4 separate regions of the Homo sapiens genome follow, and all the other regions are linked to region 4. The links are contacts of gene promoters, found by promoter capture Hi-C in blood cells and fetal thymus (Javierre and others, 2016). All regions are on one chromosome and are shown on one strand. Each heading gives the region's core, a stretch centred on a gene start or on the middle of the fragment in contact. The rest is flanking DNA. Distances are from core to core; before and after follow the strand shown.

What was found. The method cuts DNA at HindIII sites, captures the fragments that hold promoters and counts their contacts. A CHiCAGO score of 5 or more calls a contact.
Region 1: a fragment that was not itself captured here is called in contact with the fragment with the promoter of CEP192 in region 4 in 1 of 17 cell types (naive CD4 T cells); the score reaches 5.4 in naive CD4 T cells.
Region 2: a fragment that was not itself captured here is called in contact with the fragment with the promoter of CEP192 in region 4 in 3 of 17 cell types (erythroblasts, total B cells and naive B cells); the score reaches 6.1 in erythroblasts.
Region 3: a fragment that was not itself captured here is called in contact with the fragment with the promoter of CEP192 in region 4 in 1 of 17 cell types (fetal thymus); the score reaches 5.1 in fetal thymus.

Annotation. Positions count from the first base shown.
Region 1 is chr18:13,741,164-13,747,705 of GRCh38, forward strand. It overlaps RNMT (RNA guanine-7 methyltransferase), which reads left to right. Exons shown (of 12, transcript NM_003799.3): 7 at 347-528; 8 at 1,325-1,489; 9 at 5,057-5,174. Among named protein-coding and RNA genes, the nearest start is that of RNMT, 18 kb to the left of the region's middle. The HindIII fragment of the contact is 922 bases long and covers 4,103-5,024 here.
Region 2 is chr18:13,642,116-13,649,392 of GRCh38, forward strand. LDLRAD4 (low density lipoprotein receptor class A domain containing 4) reads left to right here. Exons shown (of 7, transcript NM_001378100.1): 6 at 1,244-1,297; 7 at 3,012-7,277. The coding sequence ends at 3,542. Among named protein-coding and RNA genes, the nearest start is that of MIR4526, 35 kb to the left of the region's middle. RefSeq lists an enhancer at 6,943-7,277. The HindIII fragment of the contact is 1,192 bases long and covers 1,556-2,747 here.
Region 3 is chr18:13,623,494-13,630,954 of GRCh38, forward strand. All of the region lies in intron 5 of LDLRAD4 (low density lipoprotein receptor class A domain containing 4), which reads left to right. Among named protein-coding and RNA genes, the nearest start is that of MIR4526, 16 kb to the left of the region's middle. RefSeq lists enhancers at 1-216, 2,622-3,122. The HindIII fragment of the contact is 2,249 bases long and covers 2,003-4,251 here.
Region 4 is chr18:12,986,103-12,993,234 of GRCh38, forward strand. It overlaps CEP192 (centrosomal protein 192), which reads left to right and starts at 5,260. Exons shown (of 45, transcript NM_032142.4): 1 at 5,260-5,335. SEH1L (SEH1 like nucleoporin) reads left to right here. Exons shown (of 9, transcript NM_001013437.2): 9 at 760-1,429. The coding sequence ends at 955. RefSeq lists enhancers at 3,579-4,191, 4,582-4,961 and a silencer at 5,442-5,521. The HindIII fragment of the contact is 8,933 bases long and covers 1,512-7,132 here.

The DNA of each region.
Region 1 (6,542 bases), core at 3,314-5,813, 750 kb after region 4:
AAAAAATGCCAAACGCCAGATGTTTTTTAACTCAAGTTATTGTTGAATGTCATTTTATTTTAGCTGTCAAGTAAAGTGATGAAAGGATCAAGTTGAAATGTCATAATTGACTAATATATTTTAAACATGATTTCAGAATTCCTCAGTTTTTAAATACTGTGAAAGTGGGAATCAAATTATTCTGTTAAACTAGAATACATGCATGATTTCTGTGTGTCCTTTATTGTACAAGGGAAAGATTGTGAGGGAAAGGAAGAACCTTACATTCTAGAAGTTAATTTACTAAAAAGTTTTTAATCTTTGTTGTAGTTACCTCACAATCTTAACTCATTTTAATTTGTTTCAGGAACTTCTGATTGACAAATTTCGTGACCCACAAATGTGTTTTGACATCTGCAGTTGTCAGTTTGTCTGTCATTACTCATTTGAGTCTTATGAGCAGGCTGACATGATGCTGAGAAATGCGTGTGAGAGACTTAGCCCTGGGGGCTATTTTATTGGTACTACTCCCAATAGCTTTGAATTGATGTAAGTACTTCTAAATATATTGTGGTTTATAAAATATTCAGTATTAAGTAGCAAATGTTTATCAGAGGTAGATTTTATTAAAATACGCTATTTTAATCTTATAAGTGTTGAACACTTTCATAAGATATTTGAGTAGACATTCAAAATTTAAATTCAATAGACAAATTTACAGGTGAACTTTTAACAGTTCATCTTTGTGTGTAAGTTAGAGACTGAAGTTATAGTGATAGACAAACTGCAGGTCAGATACACAGGCACAGAGATGAACCAGCTGTCATGAGAGTGATACCTACTTCCAGCTTAATTTTATTGGTGTGACTGTTGGTGATCTTTTAGTATATTGCTTCTTAAAAGTAGCTCAAATCAGGAGAGTGCAGTGGCTCATGCCTATAATCCTAGCACTTTGGGAGGCCAAGGCAGGAGGATTGCTTGAGGCCAGGAGTTTGAGACCAGCCTGGACAACATAGTGAGACCTTGTCTTTACAAAAAATTTACAAATTAGCCAGCATGGTGGCACGCCCCTGTAGTCCTTGCTCAGGAGGCTGAGGCAGGAGGATCACTTGAGCCCAGGAGTTGGTGGCTGTAGTGAGCTATGATCACACCACCACACTCCAGCCTGAATGACAGATTAAGACCTTGTCACTTTAAAAAAAAAAAAAAAAGGTAGCCCAGATATAATTAAAAGGCTAATCAAGTGTGCATCATGTAGTTTTTCACATGCATAATCTGATCAAAATAAGTCTACACTAATCACAATTTTAATCTTTTTATTTTGGTTGGGGGATAACCTTGATAGAAGACGCCTTGAAGCTTCAGAAACAGAATCATTTGGAAATGAAATATATACTGTGAAATTTCAGAAGAAAGGAGATTATCCTTTATTTGGCTGCAAATATGACTTCAACTTGGAAGGTGTTGTGGATGTTCCTGAATTCTTGGTCTATTTTCCATTGCTAAATGAGTAAGAAGTCATTAATCTGTTCACTCTTTTCTTTTTGTCTTAAGGGAAAGAAAAGCGGGGAAAAGCAATATTTATTTTACTCTTTATTTTAAATGAGGGCTAAAGAAAAAGTATAATCTTGTTTTTTTGTTTTTGTGTTTTTAAAAAAAAAAAACAAAACAAGACTAGCTTCACATCTAGGGGATTATTGCCATAGGTCTCATAATAGCCTAACTTAGTTTTCTCTCATTCCTGGAATTTTTTAATCCTGTGGGTGAAAAAGGGAACCAGTTGCCTTCAGCTTGTGGCACAAAATGCCTGACACTGCAAATAGCAAAAGTTTTTTTTTTTTTTTTAGTGACTACTGGTAACTTTGATGATAAACAATGAGTCTTCATAAATCAAAGATCCGGCCGGGCGCGGTGGCTCACGCCTGTAATCCCAGCACTTTGGGAGGCCGAGACGGGCGGATCATGAGGTCAGGAGATCGAGACCATCCTGGCTGACACGGTGAAACCCCGTCTCTACTAAAAATACAAAAATTAGCTGGGCATGGTGGCGCGCGCCTGTAGTCCCAGCTACTCGGGAGGCTGAGGCAGGAGAATGGCATGAACCCGGGAGGCGGAGCTTGCAGTGAGTCGAGATCGCGCCACTGCGCTCCAGCCTGGGCGACAGAGCGAAACTCCGTCTCAAAAAAAAAATAAATAAATAAATAAATAAATAAATAAATAAATAAATAAATCAAAGATCCTCCTTTTGACAGAGATGAGTATTAAAAGTTGTTTGCATTTCACTATAACTTTGAAATTGCCTATGTCTCACAGGCAATGTTGATGATAAAATCCTGATTCAGGAATGTATTCTCCCATGTGCCTGAATTCCTAGGAGTCCTGGCAAACTGTAGACACAGGAAAAGCTGGGGGTAACTGGGCCTTACCAGGTAAGGCTTCAAGGCCTTGTGATACACCTTGGTTTCCAGAGTTTCCCCGGTGGGGAGAGTATAAAAGTCAGCTTAAATGTAGGCCATGTCATGATTGATTGAACTTGATTTTCTACTTTTTAGAAACAAAAATCTTTTGTTTTGAATATTAACTGAGAAAAAGAAGAGGTATATTGTCTGCTTACTTCTGCTTGGTGCTTATTTTAATTGTAACTCAGTCAGTCTGTAAAATTAGGGTTACAGTATTTTCAGGAGTTCTATAATAGCTTATTCAATAATATAAGAAAGCCAAGTAGCATTGTGACTGAACATGAGGAAAATACTGTGCATAATTTTATAAATATAAACCATTTACAAAATTTAAAAATATCAATTACATTTTCCTTTTAATTTTTAAAACTAATAAACTGGGGAAATGTTACTGCTCTTCAACTTTATTTAAAAAAGAACTTAATTGTGGAATGTTATTGAGTATGTTTAATATGTTAGCTTGAGATTTTAGTTAACAGTTTGGTGATTTTAGTATAATCAAAAAGATAATAAAACAAAAGATTTGTTTTAAATGCTAAACAAGACCTAGCGGTCTTCTTTTTTTTTTTTTTTTTTTTTTTTTTGACTTAAATTGCCTAATGATGGTAAACCTAAGTCATCAGTTTAATATCTAATTTTTTAAAAGATTATTTATTGAAACAGTATTGGATGAAATAGAATCTGAAAATGTGTGGGGGTTTTGAGATGCCTTTTTGCCATTTCATTAAGAAATTTAACAGAAATAAGCTTTTTGTGTGGCAAAACTTATTCAAATTGGGCCTCAATTCTTTGAATCATGATTTTTTTAGGTGTAAAACTTGGTTTCATTTCTAAAGGGTTATTTTAGAGATTTACAAACGAAAATGAACTGCCTGGAATAAAAAACTTGGTTTCATTTCTAAAGGCTTATTTTAGAGATTTACAAAAGAAAATGAACTGCCTGGAATAAAAAACTTGGTTTCATTTCTAAAGGCTTATTTTAGAGATTTACAAAAGAAAATGAACTGCCTGGAATAAAAGACTTAATTTTGCTCATGTTGCCTTTCCAAGGAGGATTAATTGAAGTAACAGAATCCTGCCTTACGTATACCTCTTACATAGAAACCTCAGTGGCCCTCCAGTGTTTGCCCTTACCCTATCCCCTCAAATGCCACCCTGTACACGAGCCTTCCCACCTAATTTTCAGGGTTTCTCCCCTTCCTTCCACTCTTCCTTTAACTGCTGCCTGAAGTCATCTCCAGGCTCCCTCTTGTTGTCTACAGATACATGATTATAAACTTGGCAAATGCAGTGAGGAAAAAAACTACCTGAGAGTCTAACGGAGAGACCTAATATAATTAAGATTTAAGGAAGGTGCCTGTAAAGAATCGATGTTTGAGTCAGGATCTAAAGGATGGAAAAGTAGGTGGGCAGCTGAGGACTGGAGGGAAGAATGCTCCTGACAAGAGGACAGCGTGTGTGAGGGCCCAGCAGTGGGAAAGCTAGGCTAGTCCAAGATGTTGAAAGAAGGCCCATCCTGATTTATATCGGGGGCTGTCCCAAAATGAGGCAGCATTCCTTTACAGATGAATGTCTTCGAGACCATGTTCTGTATCCTAAGTGCACTGGAGCCCAGTGGAGGGTGTTAAGGGGGTAGTGACATGACTCAGGTCCGCATTTCTGAAAGCTTAATCTGGCTGCGATTGGAAAATTCATTGAGGGAGAGTAAGAATGGAAGCAGGGGACAAGCAAAGTGAGTTTATGGACTGGTGCCACTGAGTGGTGATGGTGACTGAAGCAGCAGGATGGTGCCAAATGCAGGAGGTAAGAAGTGGACCTATTTGAAATTGATGTTTTCTAGGTAAAATAGAAAGGACTTAGTGATGTGTATTGAGCACAGTGGGTAAAAGAGAAGGGGAGATGGCATGGATCACTAGGTGGATTTACTGAAATGGCAAAGATTGGCAGTAAAAGAGCAGTGATGTTCAGCCTTAGATGTGGGACGTTAGAGAGTGCCAGTGACACATGCAGGTGAAGATTTCTAATAAGCAGTAGAATCCATGAGTGATGAGAGACAGCTGAACTACCGATAGCTGGGGGGTGGAAGTGAGTAGGGCTCTGGACTGTACTCTACAGAACCTTGAAGTTTAGAAGTTGGGTAAAAAAAAACCTGTAAGTGAAAAGGAAAAAAAAAAAACCTGCAAAGAAGCAGTTCATGATGTAGGGGAAAAATTAATAGTGTATCTTGCCAGAGAAGTCGAGATGAAAGTGAATCTTTAAGAAGGAAGTTGGCAGCTGTTTGCAGTGCAGCTGTGAGAGATCAAGTAAAGTGAAATGGAATCAGTAGAAAAGAGTTTCCTACACTTTTTCCGCATCTCACAGCTCCGGAGACTCTCATTTACTTCCTGACCTTTATGTTATACTAATAGAGCCCTCTGAAACCCCTGAGATTTAGAATGCATGTTTCTTTTAGGTGTGATATGTTACTCTTGATTCATTTTGTATTACTGTATTGTGAATTTATCAAGGGAGTGGTAGCTTTTTTAGTTAAGTCCAGAAGATGTCATTGCTGTACAAAAGTAAGTTGAGGAATTACAAACATGTGGAAGCTTTTTCATTAAGTATTCTTTTTTGGACAGAATGGCAAAGAAGTACAATATGAAACTAGTCTACAAAAAAACATTTCTGGAATTCTACGAAGAAAAGATTAAGAACAATGAAAATAAAATGCTCTTAAAACGAATGCAGGCCTTGGAGGTGAGTATTTAGAAAAGATGTACAAATTTCAGTCATGGTGAACTTGTTTGGCTGTTCTTGAGATCCTTGCAAGGCCATCTGAACATGAAATAGTTATGTGTATTACGCTCTTCAGCACCTAGGACGGAGCTTGATACAGAAACTGCATGGTGAGTGCTCAGTAAATACTTGATGAAAGAATGAGTACTGGTGTTACCAAATTCTGTTTTCTAGGATAGTACTGCTTTAAAATAGGATTTCTCAGCCTCAGGACTGTTGACATTTTGTTCTGGATAATGCCTTGCTGTGGGATGCTGTGCATTGTAGGATATTCAGTAGCATTCCTGGCTTCTACGCACTAGATGCCTTCCAGTAACACTCTTGTCCCCAGTTACGATAACCAGAAAACTCTCTCCAGACATTGCCAAATGTCCCCTGGTGGACAAAATTGCCCCAAGTTGAGAACCAGTTCTTTACAACAGTGCCTTTTGGTTACGACAGTAATTTAGAACCTTCCTGGCCAGTGTCCAGACAAGCTCAAACCATACATAATTTTATTGCATGGTAATTCTTTAGCAGGGTTCCAGTCTTTTAGACTGTGTTGTTGCTGAGACCTCTCCTGTCCTAATGCAGCAGTGAAGGTATCTATATAAGCTTCAATTACACAGCCATTGATTGTTTTTCCTTTTTCTCCTTACCAGACAATGTTTGGTTGGACAGACCTAAAATATTCAGTGAGCATTTTTATTATTGATCAGTAGAATCATATTCATCAAATGGACATTAAACTTCCTTAGAGAGTTTATTCAGTTTAAGTACTTTAAGCATACTCTGACTTCTTTATCCTTATAATTACCTCCATGAAGTAGGCAGAATGGTAACTTTTCACTAATTTTTTTCCTATTTTTTTTTTTTTGTTGTTAATGACAGGATCTCGCTCTGTTGCCCAGGCTGGAGTGCAGTGATGTGATCACAGCTCACTGAGGCCTTCACCTTCTGGAAGGTGATCCTCCCACCTGAGCCTCCTGAGTAACTGACTACAAGCGTGTGTCACCACACCTGTCTCAGTTTTAAACTTTTTGTGCTGATGAAGTTTTGCTGTGTTGCGCAGGCTGGTCTCAAACTCCTGGCCTCATCAAGCAATCCTCCCGCCTTGGCCTCCCAAAGTACTGGGATTACAGGTGTGAGCCACTGCACCTGGCCAGTTTTCACATTTTTTTAGTGGGCAGCCTGAGGCTCAGAGGATAATGACTTGCTCAAGGCATACTAACCTTTAGATTTTCTTCAGTTTTTGTAGATGATACTCAAACAGAAGTCTCCTGTTGAAGTTGCACCTGCACCCAGCCACTCCCACAATGTTGAGTGGGAGGACTTTTTATAAATTCTAAA
Region 2 (7,277 bases), core at 902-3,401, 650 kb after region 4:
AGCTGGACCGCCGTATACGTTTGCCACTGATTCCAGGATGTCCCCGAGTATCTTAGGAAAGGGCCGTGTTGGACAAACGCGGGGCTCGGTGTTTCTTCCGCGCCGTCCCTCGCTGCTGGCGCCGGGGCCGTCGGAGGCTCAGTGATGGCCCAGCCCGCCCGTTTCCGAGAATTCCCCAAACGCGGGCCCCTACACGCTGAGTTCGCGCTCTCCCGTGACGGCCGACAGCCCCGCGGACCCTGCTGACAGCCACACTCTGGGCTGAAAAGGGTACCACGCGTACTTTTTTTCCCAGCACGCGTGGGGCCTTGGAAAGAACCTTTACTGAGGCCTGTGGCTGGCCTGTCACCTTGTCAATCTGGCCAAACGTTTTTGAAAAAGGATGCTAACTCACCAGATGTGAAGTTGCATCTGCCCTGTGAATAGGTGGACTGGAGAAGACACTCGCTGGAGGATCCTGAGCCCAGGCTCGGAAAGGGCCGTCCACCTGCGAGCGCGGACTTGCGCCTCTGCTGGAGGCCGGGCAGGGCACGGGCGGGCCCCGGGCCACCTCTGCCAGGGCTTCCTCAACCCAGCCTGCCCTCATCGGGCGGCCACTGAATGCGGTTGGACAGTCATCTTGAATGTATTTCAAGCACACAGGTGTAGAGAGTGAGCCATATTCCACTTCAAATCTAATCTGGCCAGGAGTTCAACTTTTCCATGTTTCCTTTTGTTCACAGCCCTCCATGTAGACAAGAGGTCTGAAAAGGGACGGGCTCTTTCTCGCTCCACGTTTTTTGTTTGTTTGTTTGTTTGTTTATCTATTTTTTGTTTTTTTTTTTTCTTCTGTTTTTTTGATACGGAGTCTCACTCTGTCGCCCAGGCTGGAGTGCAGTGGCAAGATCTCGGCTCACTGCAACCTCCGCGTCCCAGGTTTAAGCGATTCTCCTGCCTCACCCTCCCGAGTAGCTGGGATTACAGGCACCCGCCACCACGCCCAACTAATGTTTGTATTTTTAGTAGAGACGGGGTTTCACCATGTTGGCCAGGCTGGTCTCGAACTCCTGACCTCGTGATCCATCCGCCTCTGCCTCCCAAAGTGCTGGGATTACAGGCTTGAGCCATGGCGCCCGGCCTCGCTCCACGTTTTATGCAGATCCCCGTTTCCAGAAGTTGTGCTTCATGTTTTTAGGTGCGGCGGGGCTAATGATTTTCCTCTGTTTCTTGTTCCCCCCACTCTCCTCCCCTTCCCCTCCGCCAGGAAGGGTGCCTGTGGCCTTCAGACAGCGCCGCACCGCGGCTGGGCGCCTCGGAGGTAAGGGGCCCCAGGAGGTGATGGCTGCGGGGGGCGGGGGGGGTGGGTGGGGATGAAGGGGGCGTGTCCCTGCCACGTGGGGTGGAAGGGGAGGGGCCTCACCACGTGGGCTGACACTTTTGGAGGAAGGCATTGCCTAGAACTTTGGTCAAAAGCGGGAGGGGACTTCCCCTAGAATCTTCCAGGGATTATTCCTGCTAGTCTAAAGCTCCTTATCAAAAACAATTTGAGAATCACTTATCTTTACATGATCCCGTAAGCTTCTACTAATGTGCCTTGGCAAGTGGGCATGGTTTATAAATATCATAGCATGATTCATTCCCACATCTCCAAGTGTAATAATGTGGATTTTAAAATAACATGTTTTTGCCTTTAAGTTAAAAATATTGGTGTGAGAGAAATCAATATCTGTATGTACGTGTGTAGATATGTGTGTATATTAAATGCATGTATATACACATATATGTATACACACATACACATCTATGCATATATGCGTGTGTGTGTGTATGTACGTATATAAAAGAGCCGTCTCCTAGAAGAAACTGGGATGGTAGAACAAATGAGAAGATTTTGTAAGAAATGTACTACCTGGATTCATTTTGAAAAAATAAATTATTATAATCATATTTATTTGAGTAAAAAATATTTTTCATGTCAGTGACTAAAAATAACTACAGGAAACTTTTATTCAGATTCCAGATAACTGGAAAAGTCTAGGAGCCACAAAGAAAAAACAGTCATTTTGGGGGGAATTTGTTAAAAAGTAATTGGCAATGATCTTCTCTAAGTAATTAATAAATCGACCCAATGCTTTGTATCTGCTCCACGTACCACTGTGTGAAGTTATAACTTCTGCTTACTCAGAGTTCTGGCCGGCGCAGTAGCTCATGACTGTAATCCTAGCACTTTAGGAAGCTGAGGTGGGTGGGTCACTTAAGCTCAGGAGTTCAAGACAAGCCTATGCAACATGACAAAACCCCATCTCAAAAAAAAAAAAAAAAAAAAAGCTAGGCATGGTGGTGTGCACCTGTAGTCTCAGCTACTCAGGAGGTTGAGGTGGGAGAATCACTTGAGCCCAGAAGGTTAAGGTTGCAATAAGCCAAGATGGCGCCACTGCACTCCAGCCTAGGTGACAGAGCCAGACCCTGTCTCAAAAAAAAAAAAAATTAAGATAAAAAATTAAATAAAAATAAAAACTCGGAGCCCCTCCTTACTTTTCTGAACCATAGGTTCTAAGTTCTAGAGCTGGCAGGGACCTGAGAAAGCAGGCAGCCCTGTCCTGTCCTCGTAAGTTATAGAGAAGCCGAGGACTGGACGATGTCACTGGTGACCAGATCCAAGTGCAGGCCGCAGTGCTCTTCGCCCTGTGACTCTTGGAGTTCCTAGTGTGTTCTGTTTCCAAGGGGAAAATGCACACGTAGCACGCACAGAAACTCCCAGGAGCCCAAGCTTTCCATTACCCACAGCTCTCCATTGCTCAGCCCTCCTGGATGCGCTGGGATTTGGCAAGGTGAGTGGTCTGTCATAAGGAATCAGAAAAGTACACTTTTTTTTCTGGAATTGGATTTTCCTGTTTTCTTTTTTTTTTTCCTGGGAGATGGTGTTCAAACTGGTAGGAACACACACCAAGCGTAACTTTCCTTGATTCTGACACATTTATGGTCATCATTGCGCTCAAACTGTCTTCAAGCCTCTCCTCTTTTCCTTCCAGATCATGCATGCCCCGCGGTCCAGGGACAGGTTCACAGCGCCGTCCTTCATCCAGAGGGATCGCTTCAGCCGCTTCCAGCCCACCTACCCCTATGTGCAGCACGAGATTGATCTTCCTCCCACCATCTCCCTGTCCGACGGTGAAGAGCCACCTCCTTACCAGGGGCCCTGCACCCTGCAGCTCCGGGACCCTGAACAGCAGATGGAACTCAACCGAGAGTCCGTGAGGGCCCCACCCAACCGAACCATATTTGACAGTGATTTAATAGACATTGCTATGTATAGCGGGGGTCCATGCCCACCCAGCAGCAACTCGGGCATCAGTGCAAGCACCTGCAGCAGTAACGGGAGGATGGAGGGGCCACCCCCCACATACAGCGAGGTGATGGGCCACCACCCAGGCGCCTCTTTCCTCCATCACCAGCGCAGCAACGCACACAGGGGCAGCAGACTGCAGTTTCAGCAGAACAATGCAGAGAGCACAATAGTACCCATCAAAGGCAAAGATAGGAAGCCTGGGAACCTGGTCTGATTCCTTCCAACGTGCACTTCAGCTGGAGAAAGAAACCAAGAAGGGAAGCGGCCGCTGGGCCCCTCCTGCGCACAGTGTTGTTCAGTTTCACATGGTACAAATAAGTAAAACCAAATGAGCAAACACGGTCTTTGTTTCTGATTCCTTTTAGGGGAATTGCATGCAAACTAGACTGAAATGATACAAACTTCCATCTGGTCTGACCGCAAACAGTGTTTATTTGGGGACAGGGGTTGGGATGGGGGTGTGGGCAGGGGAAAACAGAGAACGGGATGCTTTGAAGATACCATGAAATAAAACCCACAGAGGTATTTGATGTATTTAATTGTGAAAGGAGACTTTGCAGATAAATGAGGCCAGAATGGCATGTTTTATAATTAACTGAATAAAGAAGGAAGCATTATTATATATTATTGTGGGGAAGAACCAGCCAGTTCGCTTTTTCTCCTAAGGTGTGGAACTTTTATTTTGTTTTAAAAATATGAATCAAAATTCCTGTGTTGTGTGCCAAGGTATAAAGTGGAGAAGTTAGATGAGTGCAAGGAGCTCCTTTGTGTTGTGATGATGTGTTTTAAAAGTTGCACTATCTTAATGTTGAAAATATTTACAAGGGAACTGTTTTACGTGAAGTTCTGTATGTTGTCTTTTCACCTGTGGATTGTAATCAGGCCCAAGGAATATCCTGGAGTGGTCCCCAGAAGCATCCAAGAAAAGATATTTGGGGACGTAGCCTAACATTTTACCAACTTACGTAAATCAAAAAAGTCATTATTGTTGCAGGAGTTTGCATCAAATAGCAGTGCATCGCTGAAGCTTTTGGAGACTTTTGGATGGAAGATAAGATAGGGAAGATTAAGTTCCAGCATTTCTGACTTGTTATTTTGAGTTACTCTGCTACTCTTAGGCTGCATAGTTTATGAGAAAATGAACACATGCATTTATGGATCCAGTATCATGCAGTGCTGCCCTCATCCTCCAGCAGTGCAATTTCTTCAGTAATTTAGATTTTTTTCACTATAGCATGAAATATATTCAAATACATACCTTATTTTATGCAATAAATTGTTTAAAATGCAAGGTGGTTATTCTGCATACTGTTGAAATATGTGACTCCTCAGTATATTCCCATTGCCTCTCCCCCTTTCCTCGACAGCTTAGTTCAGTTCTGCAGGGCTGCTCAGTTCACAGGAGGCTCCCAGCAGCCACCCCACATCCAGCCTACACAGAACTTCGTGTGGGAGTGGTGTGGGTGGTGGTTTCTTATGCTTTGGAAGCCCCTAGAAATAATGACGGAAGAATGCCATGTTGCTGATCGTGGTAATAAGCCATTGTGGGTTATTGTATGTCACTAGTATTAGCATAGCATTCTTAAAGGAATGCAGTGCTCAAAACCTACCCAAATTCCCGCAGGATTCTACCAAACCCTTCCCCAGGCCAGCTTTTGTACTGAAGGCAAGAACTGGACAGTCAGAGAACAGTGGAGGGGGCAAGTGACTGAAGAGCACCGGGTAAAAAGCACAACATGCAGTTAAAATGCAACTAGAAAACTAATTTTAAATATTGTTAGTTTTAATATTCCTGATATTTACAAATATTCATTCTTATATACAATGAAAAAAATAACTTTCTTCTGCAGATGTAAGCACTGGCTTTTATAAGAGCAGCAGCCAACACGTTTAGCAGACACTGCGCGTGGAGAAGGGCTTATCTGCAGTACACTCTGCCATGTGGAGGGTGGGCCTCTGTGGCCTCTTCACATAACAAGATGAGCTGGAATGATGATTCCATGACTCCCACCTATGCAGCCTTAAAGCCAAATCCGCGTGTGTGTGTTTGTGTCTGTCTGTGGGTCTCGAAGGTGATCCGTCGGTGCGGTGGCTCTGTGCTGTAACTGGAGAGACTGTTCCAAACCCCAAGAGTTGTCTGATCCTAGTCTGTTCCCTTCTGCTTCTTACCTCTGTAGATAGGTCACTGGTTTTTGTTTGTTTGTTTTGAGGATTGGAATTTCCATTACATTCATCCTTTGCACACAGTAACATCCACAGAACTAGTCCAACTCTTAAAAGGAGAGAGGAAAAACACAGGCACCAGTTGTCAGCTCATGCTTACAACCTGTGTGGAAGTATATACAGTTGAGAGTCACAGTGGAGGTTCTGAGACTGGATTCAGTCTTGTTCCAGTGACAGTTGGAAGGCCTCTGCTGGAGAGACACCAGCTCTCAGGGCAGAGATTGGCTTGGGGCCAGAAGGACCCTCCCCAACCCTGGAGACACCCTGAAGGTTCACTGGCTCTCCAGATTAGCCTCTCTTCCTCTGTCAGGCAAAGATGAGGAGCCCGTGTTCCCATCGGGCCCTGCTGGCAGGGACTTGCAGTGGATTCTTGGTCAGGTGTGCCCACAGATGCGGAGGCGAGGTGAGTGATTCCATCATTTCAGTTCTCACCTGCAGTTTTGGTGAAGCAGGAGATGCACCCCACAGCTCTAGCTCTCAAATGGCTTCACAGTCCTTACTTCTCTACCTGCCTCAAGAAGGGGCTCAGAGCAGAGACTTGTGAATTCCTTAGTAACTGTGAGTATATGAATGTGTTGCACATGTCCACAGTATTGGCGAGATAATTACATAATTCAGATACCTTTAATCATCTTTCAAGAAAGAGGCTCCTCCCATTCAACCACCCTAGAGAACTGCCTTTGTTAAATAGTTATTTAAAGACTCATACATATCAAACCATGACTTTGAAAGGTCTTCGAGGCTGGGGCTCTGTAATGAATTAGTTTAAAAGCCAAGGTCATAACATGAATTGATGGTCAATTTCCCTTCAGCAGAAGGAAAAGGTGATTTAGATCAGTAGCTCTTTTGAAGGTTGTGGCTGACCTGTTCATACCGTGTCGCCTCATGGCTAGTGTGGCGTTGAAAGAGTAGCGACTGGGAAGATACAACTTACACAGTGGGGCCTATTGTTCTTTCAAGAACCCTTTTTTTAGCTTATAGAACCCATGGGTCCAGTTTAGTAACGAGTGATTTAGGCAATCAATGATAGGTTTATAATCTTAGATTATTCCAGCAAAGTGTGGATTGCATTGTTAGGAAGAACATTTGGTGGGAATGAACACTCCTGGGCATACCGCTGACTTTTGTCCCTTGTTCCCGGTGTAGGAGACCCAAGGCATCTTGAATCCCATCTATAAGAACACAATCTTCCAGCATACGTTTGCTTTTTCAGAAACTCTAGCATTCTCTTTAAATACTGACGCAATCCTTAATGGAAAAGAGATTTCATGAAGCAAATTATGTATTTCAATAGTTCTTCTATTTTTAGTGTCCAAAATTTACTAATACAGAAGCTTGACAAGCATGTCCTCACCCTCCCCACCACATAAACACATGGACACACACCCAAGCCACAAGAAATCCCAAGAGAGCAGAAGCGAATTTTTAAAAGATTTATCGTGAGGACTGCATTTCCATTCACTAATTTTGGCTCAAACTTATGAGGCAGGAAATAGGGGCCAACAGTAAATGGGGGAGGCCTCCTGACACCAGCAGAGGAATTTTGTACCCAGGCGAGGACTTCTTGAACTTCTGCGTATCTCCGTTTGATCTCTTTCACCTTTATTTCATCTTCATAAGAATGAGAAAGGCTCAAAAGGAAGCACTTTTAGAAATCTTCTCTGACCTAGAAGAATCCATCCAAATCCCTGCCTTCCTCTCTGAACCAACAGTTCCCTTCTCTGAC
Region 3 (7,461 bases), core at 1,877-4,376, 640 kb after region 4:
CTGTCCCTCCTCGAGGTGTGGCTGTTCCTCCTACGGCTTCAGCGTAGCTTAGCAAAGGACTCTGTGTGATGTTTCATAAAACACAAGATGCATTCCAGCACGATGACCAGAGGCAGCTCGGCCCAGGCCCTTGCTCCACTTCCCGATCTGGTGTATTAGCCCAGTTGATGGTTCCCCAAAAGAGAAAAGAGTGGCAGCTGATGAGGAAGAAACCTCCATTCTCTCCTGGACACAGACTCAGGCCTTGCTAATACTATGGGTGTGGCCATGCTATCCATTTCCCTCTCTCTGCCCTGAGGGTCCCCTAACCCAGGTCCTCTCCACCCAGGAATGCCCCCACGCAGCCAGGCTTCCTGCCTCCTAATTCCCTACTTCTAACTTCTTTTAAGAAATGCCTGTTCCCCGTATACAGTATTAGGGGAGCGATCTGATTCATTTACACTCAGCTCAGGAGTCTCGATCAGGGCTGATTCTGCCAAATGTCTAGGGGACATTTGCAGTGTCTGGCATCATAAGGGGGAATCCTACAATGTGTCCTACAGTACGCGGGCGGCCCTGCAACAAAGACTCATCTGTACAGTGCGTCCTACAGTGCACAGGCAGTCCCGCAACAAAGACTCATCTGAGTGGATGTGAGCGGTGCTGAGGCGGAGGAGCCGGCCCCACCAGGTGCTGAGCACTGCCGGACCCACCAGGTGCTGAGCACTGCCGGACCCAGGGGCACTTCACTGTAAAAGAGGCTGCCTGTTACCATGAGGGGGTCTCTCTAGGCTGGCTCTGAGGCATCCACAGAGCGGAGAGCTCTTCCCAGCAGTACGAGTTTGGGGTCTGGTCTGGGACTCTGCCTTGGGAACAGTTTCCCCAGTGACTCCTGCCTCCTCTGCTCATCCAGCCATTCAGTGGACACTCCGCAGGAGCCAGGCACTGAGTAGGAGGGGGAAACAGTGGCCATGCCCCGCCTCCGCCACCAGCAGCACCTGCAGTCCCCTGGCGGAGGCCAAGACCCCGCTGCCATTCTCTCCATCTTCCTAGGGGAGGCTAGGGGTCTGGCTGGCCGATTGTGCCTTTGGGATGGGGGAGTGTCAGGCGTGGGAGCTGTAGGAGGTGTTTGGGGCAGGTATGAGGACCTGTGTCTCCTCCGTCCCCATGCCTGGCCTGGCCCATGTGCAGTTGGCGAGGGCAGTTCCAAGTTCCCCGCCTTCCCCATCCCTAGGTGACCACCTGTGTCAGGAAGCCCCCTCCCAAGGGGCTTGGAAGGGGCTGGGAAGGCACGGCTGGCTGGTCAGCATGGCAGGGAGGGCCCTGTGCCCCCTGGCAGAGCCTGGCAGTCCTCTGTCTCCTGGGCTCCCTGTGCTGCTGTGCAGGCCTGTGCTCCAGGGCAAGGCGGCTGGGGAGGATGAGTGTGTCTGGGCAGATGCTGCCATCCTCATGGCTTCTTTCCAGTTATCAGGGCCCCTGCAAGCCCCTAAGCACCTCTTCCTTTCTCAGCACCAATGTCCGAGGCCTTTCTCCTGCAGCACCCGAGGCCCTGGGAGTCCAGGCCCTGGCGGCGGCTCAGCACCCTCCAGTCAGCAGCTGGGGTTGGATGCTCCTCCTGTCCCCTCTGTGGAGCGCAGCCTCATTAGGAGCCTGTGCATTGTTGGGGAGCCTCCTGTGAGGGCCTGTTTGTAGAGACCCACCCCAGGGCTCCATGAGCACATTAGAAAATGATGTTCTATTTAAACCTGGTGTGAGAAGTGCTGGGCATTGAATTAACCAACTTCTAGGTGATTAGGCTTCACACTCTGATTAAACTTACTGTTACGTCTTTCTGCTGGAAGCCTGGAGAGTGGAGGTGGAAACATAGCTTGGGGCAATAGGATGGGAGTGAGTTTTGGTTTGGAGGAGGAGGATGAGCAGGCCAGCAGCCTTACTTGGCTGAGGAAGCTTCCCGCCCTGCTATGAGCGGCCCCTCGCCTCCTCTACAGGTTTTCCACTTTGACCACAAGGAAGGGCCAGACCAAGCTTAACCAGACAGCATCACTGTGGCCCTGGCTTCTCTGCTTCTTGCGGAGAGTCCCGTTCTGAGAAGTGGTGACTGCCCCGCTGCCTTCTCTGGCCCCTTCCTGAGGGAGTGCCCAGCTCAGCCAGTTCTGGTCCCTGTCCCATAGGGTGTGCTCCTGTGCAGGTGCAGGTGAGGAGCCGCAGCCGGCGCCCTCCTCCCCCCGCCAGAGGCCTCCTCCCCCTGCCAGCACCCTCCTCCCCCCACCAGAGCCCTCCTCCCCCTGCCACCACCCTCCTCCCCCCGCCAGCACCCTCCTCCCCTCAGCCGGCGCCCTCCTCCCCCCGCCAGAGCCCTCCTCCCCCCACCAGAGCCCTCCTCCCTCCACCAGCAACCTCCTCCCCTCTACCAGCATCCTCCTGACACTGGCACCTTCCTCCCATGTCCCTTGGCCTGGGACAGTGCATGCTGCATGAACGTGATGGGTGTCCCAAAGCCAGTCAACCTTTGTCGCCATGCGGTAGACACTGTGTGTCCCAGGGGGGCCCAAGGAATGGATGTTACTGGGCCTGAATGTGGTGGAAGTAGTGATTTCTGGATGAAAATGAAAACTAGCAACTCAGGTGTGAATTACATCACAGACAAAGCAAATGCTTACATCATAGCAGATAGCAGCGGCGGGTCCGGATCTGCATCCTTGTGCATTCTTGCTGAGGTAGCCTGAGCTTGGTTTCTTTGGAGCCTGGTTTGTGTGACTTCTGAGCATTGAGACTGTCTAGATTTCTTTTCATTATCTTAGACCATTCAGTAATGGGAAAGCAGTAAAGGGGCATGAATATTCTAGACACAGCCCGGAGAGCTATTTGAACAAGTTGCTGGAACATTTCTTGCTGGAGCTGAGGGAGCCCAGGTGACCTTTTCTGACTGCCAGCAGCCTGGCCCAGAGGGTCCAGCCTGGCCTGTGTGGACAGCCCAGGGGTAGGGGATGGCATGCAGGCAGAAGGGTCTGGCCATCAGCGGATGGAGGGAGAGGCAGGAGAGGGACAGGGACCTTTACCCAGATTGAAGCATATGAAATTGTTAACATTCAGCCATTTTGACCTATAGAAACAGCAATTTCAATTTAAAAAATTAACAAAAGGAATCACATCACACATCTCTTCATTATCAACTCCTACAGGGATTAAATCGATTGTGAAAATCCAGGTGCCCATTCTTCATAGCCAGGAGGAGCAGCCAGGCCCCACCCAGCACAGCTGGGCTCCTCCAGCTCCCTGGGGTTGACACTGGGAGGGGCCCTGGCTGTTGCGGAGGAGGACAAGCACTTGGTGGCTGTCAGCCCTCTTGATGCAGAAACTCATGCTCCTCAGATCCACAGTGCCCTGACATGGGGTGAGCTCTCCCCACAAGTCCCTCTCTGCAGAAGCCACAGAGTTAGCCTAGAGCATGGCTGTGTACCTGGTTTGCCCCACAGGGTGTTCGAACCTAAGTTGATCTAGCTTTTAAAAATTGGGGCTGGGTGCGGTGGCTCACGCCTATAATCTCAGCACTTTGGGAGGCCGAGGTGGGCAGATCACTTGAGGTCAGGAGTTTGAGACCAGCCCAGCCAACATGGTGAAACCTTGTCTCTACTCAAAAATACAAAAGTTAGCCAGGTGTGGTGGCACGTGCCTGTAATCCCAGCTACTTGGGAGGCTGAAGCAAGAGAATCTGGAGGCAGAGGTTGCAGTGAGCTGAGATCACGCCATTGCACTCCAGCCTGGCCGACAGAGGGAGACGCCATCTCAAAAATAAAAAAATAAAAAATAAAAATTGTGAGATTTCACATGAAAATTGGAGTTTCCATCTTCTCTTGAAAAAGCAGCCTATGGGGCCACACCCTGAGGCTGGGGCTGTGAGGTGGCTGCCATGGAGTGGGCCTGTGCTGCCCGGGCTGTCACCTGTCTCTCGCTGGGGACCCTTCAGTGCCGGGCAGCAGCATTGCCATCTGTGGGTTTGCACGTGGGGGTTGTTTTTCAGAGAAAATTTTCTTCTGCACTCAGGCTTCTATTGCAAGGCTGAAGACCAAGATAGACTGAGAGGGCCACTGGTTCCCAGAAAAATGGGTGAGAAGGTCCTTGTGGAAGTAAATACTGTTCCTGCCTGGTTAGGAGTTGAGACACGTGTCTGGGTCAACAGTGCTGTGCGTGTCCTGTGCCCAGCCTGACATGGTCACTCGTGGCCACTGCTGTCCAGTCATCTCCCCAGGCAAGGCCCTCCTCTGTGACTAAAGCTTATAGCCAGAGGGACAGAGGTGGCCATGGGCTCCCCGCTCTCTGAGGCTCGGCCCTGCACCAGCAGCCTCTCTGCTGGCCTTGGGAGCAGCGGTGGCCAGAGGGCAGACGGTCCTGGGCAGGTGTCTGACAGCCAGGAGCCCGCTGTGCTGGGGCTCAGAACTCACAGTGAGGGGACCTCTGGGTGTGCCATATGTGACGAGTGCCTTTCTCTACCTGGGCAGTGTCCCTCTACCCTCCCCTGCAGATAGAGGCTCTGAGGTGGGCCCCAGGCTCAGGGGTGTTTGAGAAACCCACAGGCAGTGTCCTGGGATCCCTCGGAGGGCACAGGGAGCAGGGGTTTCAGCGCCACACTGTTCATTCCCACTGCGGCTGGAGCGCTGGCTCGCTGTGCCCTGCTGCTCTCACTCCTGCCCACCTCATACGTTTAGAAAAGCATGTGGAAAACGATGGAAAGGAATGATTTTCAGTAAGGCTTGAAGGAGTGGACTAAAGGGCTTACTGATGCAGTTGTACTCGGTCTGCCTCTGACACTCCAGACTAAAGAAAAGAGCCACAGGCTTCCTCTGGCATCATTGTGGGGATGAACCGCAGGGGACCGTTTCCCTGCAGGCAAGGCAGACCCTGCTGCACCACAGACCAGATGTGTGTGTTTGTCGGTTGTCCAGTGACAGCTCTCCGTTACTGCATTTCACGGAAACTGCATTTCCAAGAGCTTAGGGTCCGGCGGGTTGGCCGCAGCATGTCTGTCTGAGTGAGCAAGGACTTCCAATTATCAGGCTGCCCAGGTGGTCATTTGAAAGGTTTTGCCCTTTGCTATGTCTAATTGAAGCATTAGAGGATAGACAATTTCACATCACCTCAAAATGAGAACATCTCCCTTCAATTAAGGGAAACAGGAGGCCAAGCGGCCCGGCAGAAACTGCATAAGGATGCTGGACCCCAGCTGCACGCAGATTCCCACCTGAACCACAGTGGGCAGAGCTTTGGAAGAGTCAATGCTTATCTTTAAAGTGACAGTGTCTCAAATAGTCCTTCTACTGATGTTGGCACTGCTCAGAATGTTTGGGAATTACCTTCAGGTTTTGGGGTTATTTTTAAGTGACAAGATCTCACTTTGTTGCGCAGGCTGGAGTATAGTGGCATGATCATAACTCACTGCAGCCTCGAACATTTAGGCTCAACTGATCCCCCTGCCTCAGCCTCCTGCGTAGCTGTGACTATAGGCACGCGCAACCATGCCTGGCTAATTTTTAAATTTTTTGTAGAGACAAGATCTCACTGTGTTGCCCAGGCTGGTCTTGAACTCCTTGCCTCAAACGATCTTCCCACTTCAGCCTCCCAAAGTGCTAGGATTACAGGCCTGAGCCACTGCACCTGACTGGGTTGTTTTTATTTGTTTGTTTGTTTTTTTAATCAAGGGAAATTTTTTAAAAGCTTCTCCACAATGGCAAATCTTCCTTTGCAAAGAGCAAATAGTTTTGCTCTTGGGGATAGATTTGATTTTTGGTACCAGCCAAAATCCATTTAGAGTTAAGTCTTGTTCATTATATGGGTGATCAAACCAAATGATACAATTTTGGTGCAAAGGCAAGCACGACTCAATTAGTGAGACTGACGTCCGAGTTACAAACTGATCTGTAGAGAAAGGTCAGGAAGGACCCACAGCAAACTGACAGCTGTGCCTGGGAAGGAAGTAAGGACAAAGGAACACTGATCTGTGCAGTAAAACTTTTATGGTAAGAATGTATTCATGTATTACCTTTGCAATTACAAAACATCCTCTGATCATGTAAACTGATGCTAAAGGCAGTAATGTTCTGGGCATCTATAGACTCCCAGAGTAATTCATTTGAACATGGTTTCTATGGTGGCTAAAATAATAATTTTAAATAAAATGTATGAACATTTTTATCAACAAATTTATAGTAATCTTTTAAATATATAAGGTATTAGCATTAATAATCTAATAGTAAAATCTGTTGGTTTATTTTTTGCTTAGTCCTTGAAAGTTGGTGTGGTTTGTTCTGAAAAAAAAAAAGAGAAGAAGATTAAAAATTATCTTAATGATCATAACTCTGGGTGGCCCCTGTTGGGGAGGCTCACCAGGCTGGGGTCTGGCTCTTGGCAAAGCCCCAGCAGCTCTGTGACCTTGGGTGAAGGTCACAGAAAATCCCCTCTGAGCTCTGACTTCTTCTCACATGTGAGACGAGGCAACTGGTGCTGAAATCAGGATGATGCCTGCCTGGATCTTGTGTGGTTCCACATTTTCCTGCTGCCTGGAACTTTCTCATTCCCAGGCTGATTCCTCTTGAAGTCCGATTGCTCACTAACCCCAGCACCAAGCTGGGAGAGGCACCTCATATTGCTTTTCCCCGCTAGCCCATTGCATTGTCCCAGAAATAGAAAGGATTCCCTTCCTTTTCTTCCAGCAGACCTTCCTAGATGATTTGTCTTTTCTCTTAAGGGACGTGCCCTAGATTGAGCAGAGTTGGGGGATCTTGAATCTGAGAAGTCTGATGATGGATTCCCCAGGAGGAAGAAAGGGGGAGGTGCAGTCTCTGACAGCCAGGGGTACTGGCCTCACATCCAGGCTGTGACTGCCATCTAGAGTGGAAAGGACGGTAGTGATAAAATATCAGGATGGTGGAGAGGCTGCATGAAAAAAGGGAGAAAACAGGGAAAATTGATTTTATCAGAAGGCAAAGGTGTTGCTGAATATCCAAAGATCAATTTCACCTCTTCTTTGAAATTCTCACTGTGGAACAGGGGAAAAATAGATTTCCAACTATTTGAGGCCATAAAATACATTCATTCACTGGGAGGTTAGCCCTTGGGTAGAATCAGAATACCCAGCAGTAGTCTTGCTTTACCGCAGACTGACCGAGGTGCCTAGAGAGGAATATGCCCTCTGTCCTCAGTTTCCCCCCATCTAAAATGAGGGATAACTGGCTTCATTCGGAGGCCTTCAATCTGTATCTTGCCATGAAGAACAGTAAGAAATACATTTTATATCACAACACAAAAGCCTCCTATAATGCAATTAAGGCAGAGGTTTTACAAAACAATACTTACAGTGTGCTCAGATCATTTCTGTTCTGTTTCAGTTTTTGGAATGCTGGCTGTGACCCACTTAAATGGATTTTCCAGCTCTCTAAGAGGCTGCAAAGCACATGGTGGAAAACACTGTGTTCAGTGCTCTCCCTG
Region 4 (7,132 bases), core at 4,010-6,509:
ATGTAAATTAATTGTCAGCATTCCATGTCTCAAGATTTTCTTAATTTAGTTCGCTGTTTAAATTAATTCATGTCCTGTAAAGTTCTGACCTTGATAACAAAGCTATAAATATTTAAGTTTGCTAATATGCGTAAGTATTATCGGTAAGTTACAAGATGGAAGAAGAATAACAGTAGGGCACAGTCATTCTGTGAATCCTTTTACTTATCAAAATTTGGTAGCTATTCTAAGGCTTTTGCAGAAAAATAAGTGTTCAATGTTTGTAGTTCTTCAAAAGCATGTTGCAGTAGCCAGCCATACTATGTGTATTCCCAGTATCATGTACGCACTAAAAAAAATGTGTGCTTGCTGCTGCTGTGAGTGAACCATTGCTTAAGATAAAAAACTTAACTAGATCTGTAAATGTACAGAATAGCATCAGATGTTTCTGAGAGATTAGAAAATGTTTTGAATTTATAAAATTAATGTTTTTCTTTGTAACATTTATATATATTTTTTAACATTTTAAGTTTAACAGATTGTATTCCTTTCAAGTTTCTATACTTGCTTAAGCAATCTTGATTTGAGTAAGGGTCTTGATTTGTGCTATTATGTTCTGTTAGTTTTGGCATGAATATACTAAAGCTTTTTTTTTTTTTTCTAGCATGTGTTTTCTCCTCTTTGGTTCTCTTTGTATTTACTACTTTTCTCTTTTTCTTGTGTTTTTTTTTTCCTGTTTTTGTTTTGTTTGGTGTTTTGTTCCTGTCTTCATTGTTTCAGGTATTTCTTTACCCCTCTGGATTCCCCACGGGCTGGATCGAGATGGTCCAGTTATGCCCAGCTCCTTCCTCCTCCTCCTCCTCCTCTGGTAGAGCACTCTTGCGATGCTGACACTGCCAACCTCCAGTATCCTCACCCTCGCAGACGATATCTCTCTCGGCCTCTTAATCCCTTACCTGAGAATGAAGGGATTTAAAACACTGATTTAACATTGAAAGGCCTTATTCAAGTGCTTGTAAATGCTTTCATTTCTGGCTGCTTTTTGTTTTTCATTTTCTTTCAGAAGATTTTTCTAACTTAGGGTCTGTCTTGCATGTATTACAACCAGAATACAGTGTTTGGAACCTAAATCTGTTTGTGCGTCTGCATCAAAGGAACATTTGCTTCACTGGGTGATAACCTTTGATGAAATGAGATATGTCCAAGTAACGTTAACTGTGAAGTTACACACAGTAGCTGACTTCAAAGTGCCTGTTCTGTAAATTTTATTTTAAACTGTTACCATAGTCTTAAGTTGTTTATGCTTTATCAGACTGGCTAATGTGAAAGCATAATATTATGAAGTTTATTCTGCCTTATGAGACCTTAAAAAATGGATTTCATTTTACAGGCTAATGTTGTAACTGACTAGTATGTAAAATAAATCATTCCTGTGTATAAAGCAGCAAAACCTAATGTGGACTTTTTGGTCTTTTTTTTTTTTTTTTTTTTTTAAAGGAAATTGCCTTTCACTACTTGGAATTACTGTTTAAAGCTTTTGTAATTATTATCCAAGTAGGTTATGTAATAAAATATATTTAAAAATATACGAATCTCTTGCCTTATAAAAACAGAATGTATTTTATTTAAGATAATTGCCAAGGCTTACTCTTCTTTCACTATCTCACAAAAAACCCAAACAAAAATTAGGAGATGTGAGCAAATATTACATTTATTTAAAAGGTAGAAAGTCAGTATGTAGACTACTAACATTTAGAATGGACAGATGTTGACTTTCAGTCTAATTAGTCAACATTAGAATATTTTCTAGAATATTTTAAAATGAGAATGTACTTGATTATAATTGTGGTAAAATGATTAAAACTAGTAATATGCTTGTTGGTTCAGTTTTGTCAGGAATTGTCAAGGGTTTAACCTCTTATCAGGGCTAGAGAGAGAGGTGTTTTGAACAGTATTTCATGTAACAGATTACATGAAATATCAGGTAATCACATAGGTGACATAGTTATTATAACTATTCTAATTTTCAAAGACGCCTTTCCTTGAATAGTGTCATAGCTCTAGTACTTCTTAATATGCAAAGGATTAAGAGCTGATAGAAAGATTCTGTTCATTTTATTTTATTTTTTATTTTTTAAGACAGTGTCTCACCCTGTTGCCCAGGCTAGAGTGTAGTGGCATGATCATGGCTCACTGCAGCCTTGAACTTCCGGGCTCAAGCGATCCCCCCACCTCAGTCTCTTGAGTAGCTGGGACTGCTGGTGCACGCCACCATGCCCTGGCTATTTTTTTAAAATTTTTTTTTAGTGAGGGGTCTCACTTTTTGCCCAGGCTGGTCTCAAACTCCTAGGCTCAATCCATCATCCCACCTTGGCCTCCCAAAGTGCTGGGATTACAGGCATGAGTCACCTCACCTAGCCTATTCATTTTAGTTTAAGGAACATTTGAGTTTTATTGTCTAATAATCAAAGTGTTTTGTCTCTAAAGTTAGCATTTCAATGTAAATATCTTTTTCAAATAATTCTCAAAGGTCTTCCTCTGGTTAAATGACTTGCTAGGCTTGTAGCCTTATGGAGGATCAAACAAGAAGTCTTAATGCTGAATCTAACCCAGAATTAAGAAGCCATGTCTTTGAGCTTTCAGACATAGAGGTACCTTGGGTAAGAATGGAATAATGAAATTGAGACCATTCTCCAGTTTAATTTAGTGAATCCTGAGCATCTACCATGTGCAAGATACTGTGCCAAACACTGGGGTATGTAGAAAAATAGGTAGTCTGCACACAAACTTACACTCGTGGGAGAAGGCATTTTTAGAATTTACAAAAGGTAATGGGTTCAGCTTTGTAATAATGGTAGAAATTGTATAGTAGGCATAAAAGAGACAAGTTATTTGAGCTGGCAGAATTTGGAAGGGATGTCTGATTTCAATAGGTAAAAGAGGGCCGGGGTGTGTTTACGGAATAGGATATAAGTAACAGTCTGATGAAAGAGTAGGGTTCATTTAGGGAACTACTGGGACATTAACCTGAAATCATACCTTGTGGTTACATTGTAGAAGGTTTTGAGTATTGGCTGAGGCATACCACTTTAAGCAGTTGGTAAAAGGGGAGCTGAGAGATGTCTGAACTTAAAACTGGATAGGCCTCACTTCTAATTCCCTGGGAGGCACCCTGGTCATGGGGCCTCTGCAGGCTCTACTCAGTGTCTAAAGAGATTTGGAAATCACAGTGGGAGTTCTGTTCCTCCTTTCCAGTTGGCAAGTGAGGTGAGATACTGAGGTATAAGATAATAGCTAATGTTTGTTGAGTATTTCCATGGGCCATTATTTTTCTAGATACCTTACAGAAGTAGCTTTAAATCCTCACAGTAAGCCTCTGAGGCAAGCGCTTTAATTATCCCCACTTTACAGACAAGGAAACCGGCTGGTTAAAGCTACTTGCCCAAGGCTACACAGTTTGGAAGAGGGAGGTAGAGCCAGGATTCAGATCCAGGCAGCCTGGCGTCAGAGTCCAGGCTCTCCTGCTGCCGAGACTCTGAATCAGAGATCTCTGTTAATAGAGTCCTATCAGGTTACTGAGTGTTGTGGGGAGTGCTGTGGTGACTTGAGGATATTTATGGAGGAAGGACATTTATTAACAAGGATCTGGTGTGAGTGACAGTCCGGAACCTGTAGACACATTTAAGCAGTTCACCTCCAATGTGTGACCGCTTTGTAGAAAAAGAGGTTAAGAGAGGTCAGCTCTAGGGCTGAGCATTTGGCTTACTTTTTTGGGATTCAGAAAATCTTGAGATTTTCTGCATTTATCTTTGCTCACTGAGTGTGGACAAAGGTAGAATAAAGGTAATTACTCTTTGCAAATACCAAGGCTGCAGGGTTCCAAGAAGAGGTGTCGAACTGTGGAGATATCACTGAGTTTGACAATTAGGAGTCTATTCCTGATAAAGTTTTAAGGACCCAGCTAGACACCATGAAATGCGTCAAAATAAGGTGTAAAAAGTGGAAGCCTGGCTTCCTCTATGGAAAAAAAAGTGGAGACCATTAAGGGAAGGAAACAAGAATGGTCATTAGGTGATGAAACAGAATCAAGGAAGGGGTGTGTGTGGGTGTGTGGTTTGAGTGGTGTTTGTGTGTGGAGGGTGTGTGTGGTGTGTGGGTGATGTGTATGTGGGTGTGTGTTGTGTATGGATGTGTGTATACGTGTCACACACGTGTGTGTGGTGCATATGTGGGTGTGTGTGGTTTGTGGTGTGAGTGGTGTGTGTGGTGTATGGGTGTGTGGTGTGTGTGTTTGGGTAGAGAGGTGCTGCATTTTTGTAGGCAGAGAGAAGGAAACCAGTGGAGAGGATATCCAAGAATGACAGGTGAGCCATGTTTGCAGGAGGTAGAAAGTGGTCAAGTAAACAGACGTCTTTCCCCACCAAGTAACCTCAGGTCTAGGGACTTCTAAACTTTGCGTTTTCCCTCTTCTTTCCTCCAAGGTGCGCCGGACATCTTTCAGTAACTTGAACGAAGTTAAGGAGTTAGCTTTGGAAAAGAGGGACTCTTTTCCCTCTGTGACTATATGGAATAAATTTTGAGATAAGGGACCTTACTGAAAAAGACTGAGATACATTTTGAGTGAAAGGCATGGTCTCAGTGAAGTAGTTAAGGGCCTGTGCCGAGCAGATGGCGGTGATGGGTTTTGTGGCCTAAGAAGGATGGAGAAAAGTAGGAAGCAATCGAGACAAAGCCTACTCTGTCACAAAGAGGCGACTAGATGTGGCGAAATGTCATGAAACTTGGATCCCGAGGAATTAGCTGATTGAAGGTGAAACCTGACGCCTTTCAGCGCCTACCAACAGGAAAGGTCTGCATCTGCCCACGGAAGGACGAAACCTATCGGGGGGGATTTGTTGGCGGGGGATACTTCTTTGCGCATAGAGTGACTGGCGGTGCCCTGGAGACCCAAACTGAATAAAGTAAGCATTATTTTCAAATTCGCCAAGACCTTGAAGGCGGCGCCAACGGGAGCCGTCCCCCGGGTCCCACGCAGCGCAGAGCTCCATTTCCTCCTCCGGACTCGCAGGGCGCGCGGCTTCCTCGCTTCAAATCCAGGAACGCGCTGTCCCCACCAATCACCGGGCTTCTTCCCGCCCCATGTCTTCCCGCTGTCCAATCAAAAGCCAGCTCAGTCTCCTCCCCTTGCCTGGTGCCGCGAACAGACGTAAACCAGAGGCGGGCGCGGTACGGCCGTTCCGGGCTCCAGCCGGTGCGGGGGCCACGCGCACGCGCACTTGCAGTGCCCTGGGACACCTCTTCAGTCCGTGGACTTTCCCGCTGCACACTGCCCTCCGAAGTCGGGGACGCGGGCTCGGTGAGGGGGGACGCTGGTGCCTCGGCCTGCGCCTAGGCGGGAGGCAGACGCATGCACCTTTGGCCTACGTTTCGGCTGCCGGACCGACGGGACAGTGACGGTTGGGCCGGGTGGGGGCGCAGGCTGTGGGGCGGCCTCAGGGCGCGAGCAAGGGGACTGCCGCGCTTCCCGCGCCTCTGCGCCTGGCGCAGCCTCTGAGCTGAGCTCCGCCTGGTTGGGATTAATTGCACGCCTCTGTGTCATCGGGCTTTGGCCGGGCGTGATGAGACAGACTGTTAGGGGATCACGTCCTTCTTTCCTCCCCTCTTGTCTGGGGACTTCCACCTCTTGAGGGACAGGCCCTCTCCGTGCTACCCTCTGGAGTTTCTTGCAGTGTGCTTGTGAAGTGACCGGTGATGTTTCCTTTATGTGCCCTGTGATGGGCGGTTCTGTTCCTCCTTTTTGTTTAAAATTCTGACCCAGGAAGTAACCTTGTTAACTTAACTTAATGCCCTTGTCTTCCGTTTACTCACTTGATTTGGTTTCTGCTAGGTTGCGTTCATTTATTCCTAATAGTTTACCTACATTCCTTGCCTATGATTTCATTATCAACAGAACGTGAAATGAGACGAATGTTAATACACTCTACTTTTACTTTGCTGTTACTTTCAGAGTTTGTTTAGTAAAACATGAGGACCTCTTCAAGTCAGTCGTTTGGAGAACAGCTGTTTATATGACCATATTTCCATTTGCTCTTACTATTTTGAGGTCATTCGACTGGCGTTTTTACTGCTCCAAAATCAACTTTTTCTCCAAATTTCAGTTTTCTAGGCAAAAACGGCAAGCCTTGAACAATAATATACCAAATGCCTACCTAGTTTTAAAGTATATCTTAAAGTGCCAAGAGTAAATGATGAGTTTTGGGGAAGTTTGACTCGGCTTTGGGTTCCACGGCGTGTGCTTTTAAATGTGTTTAATTGTATACATAGACCTACGATTAATGACTATAGTCAGTAATCTTTTATGTACCTAGGAATGTAATTAGTGAGTCCAGATGTGAAATTTGAGGTCACTACTTTAAGGAAATAGCAAGAGAAATTGCAAATATAGCCACTCAGTTCAAATAGGATAGAAGAAAAATATTGTCTTCACTTGAGATGATGGAGGAGGGGTGGGTAATGCAATAATGTGAGAAATTAAAGGAAATTTCCTTTAGGAATGTGTTATGTCCATGAATGGTTTACAAGTGTAATCTTTTCTGGAGAAGAGACTAGGTATTAGGTTACATCTTGAGGAATCTTCCCGTGGGTTTTGTTACCTTTGCACCCTTAGCAAAGCTCTGTTGAAGCACTTAACACTATCGTAGTTGACAGGGATTGTCAGCTCCCTGAGGGGAGCTGCCTTATTTATCTTTGCATTCTTGGTGCCAAGTAGAGGGTTCTTCATGGTTTGTGTTTGATAATGAATGTTGCATGAATGACCTTTGCATAATTTCTGAGTTTTCTTTGGATTAGGCCCTTCTAAATAGGGACAACTGTTGAAGAGTTTTCTATAAATTTTAATAGTTTACATGTCTGTATATGAATGAATAACTTAGTAATTACAAGGCTAGACTTGGGGAGGCTAGTTGGGAGACTCGTGTGATAGTTCAGAATAAAAAGTGATGGGCAACGGGCATTAGGAATATAGAAGTGGGTCTCAGCTCCAGAAGTGTATTTGACGTTAGAAGCATTAGAATTTGGTGAGAGAGCAGGAGGGATCAGGATGGTCCTAGGTGTCAGGCTTGTATTGCCAGTTAATAGGGATGGATTTGGGTGA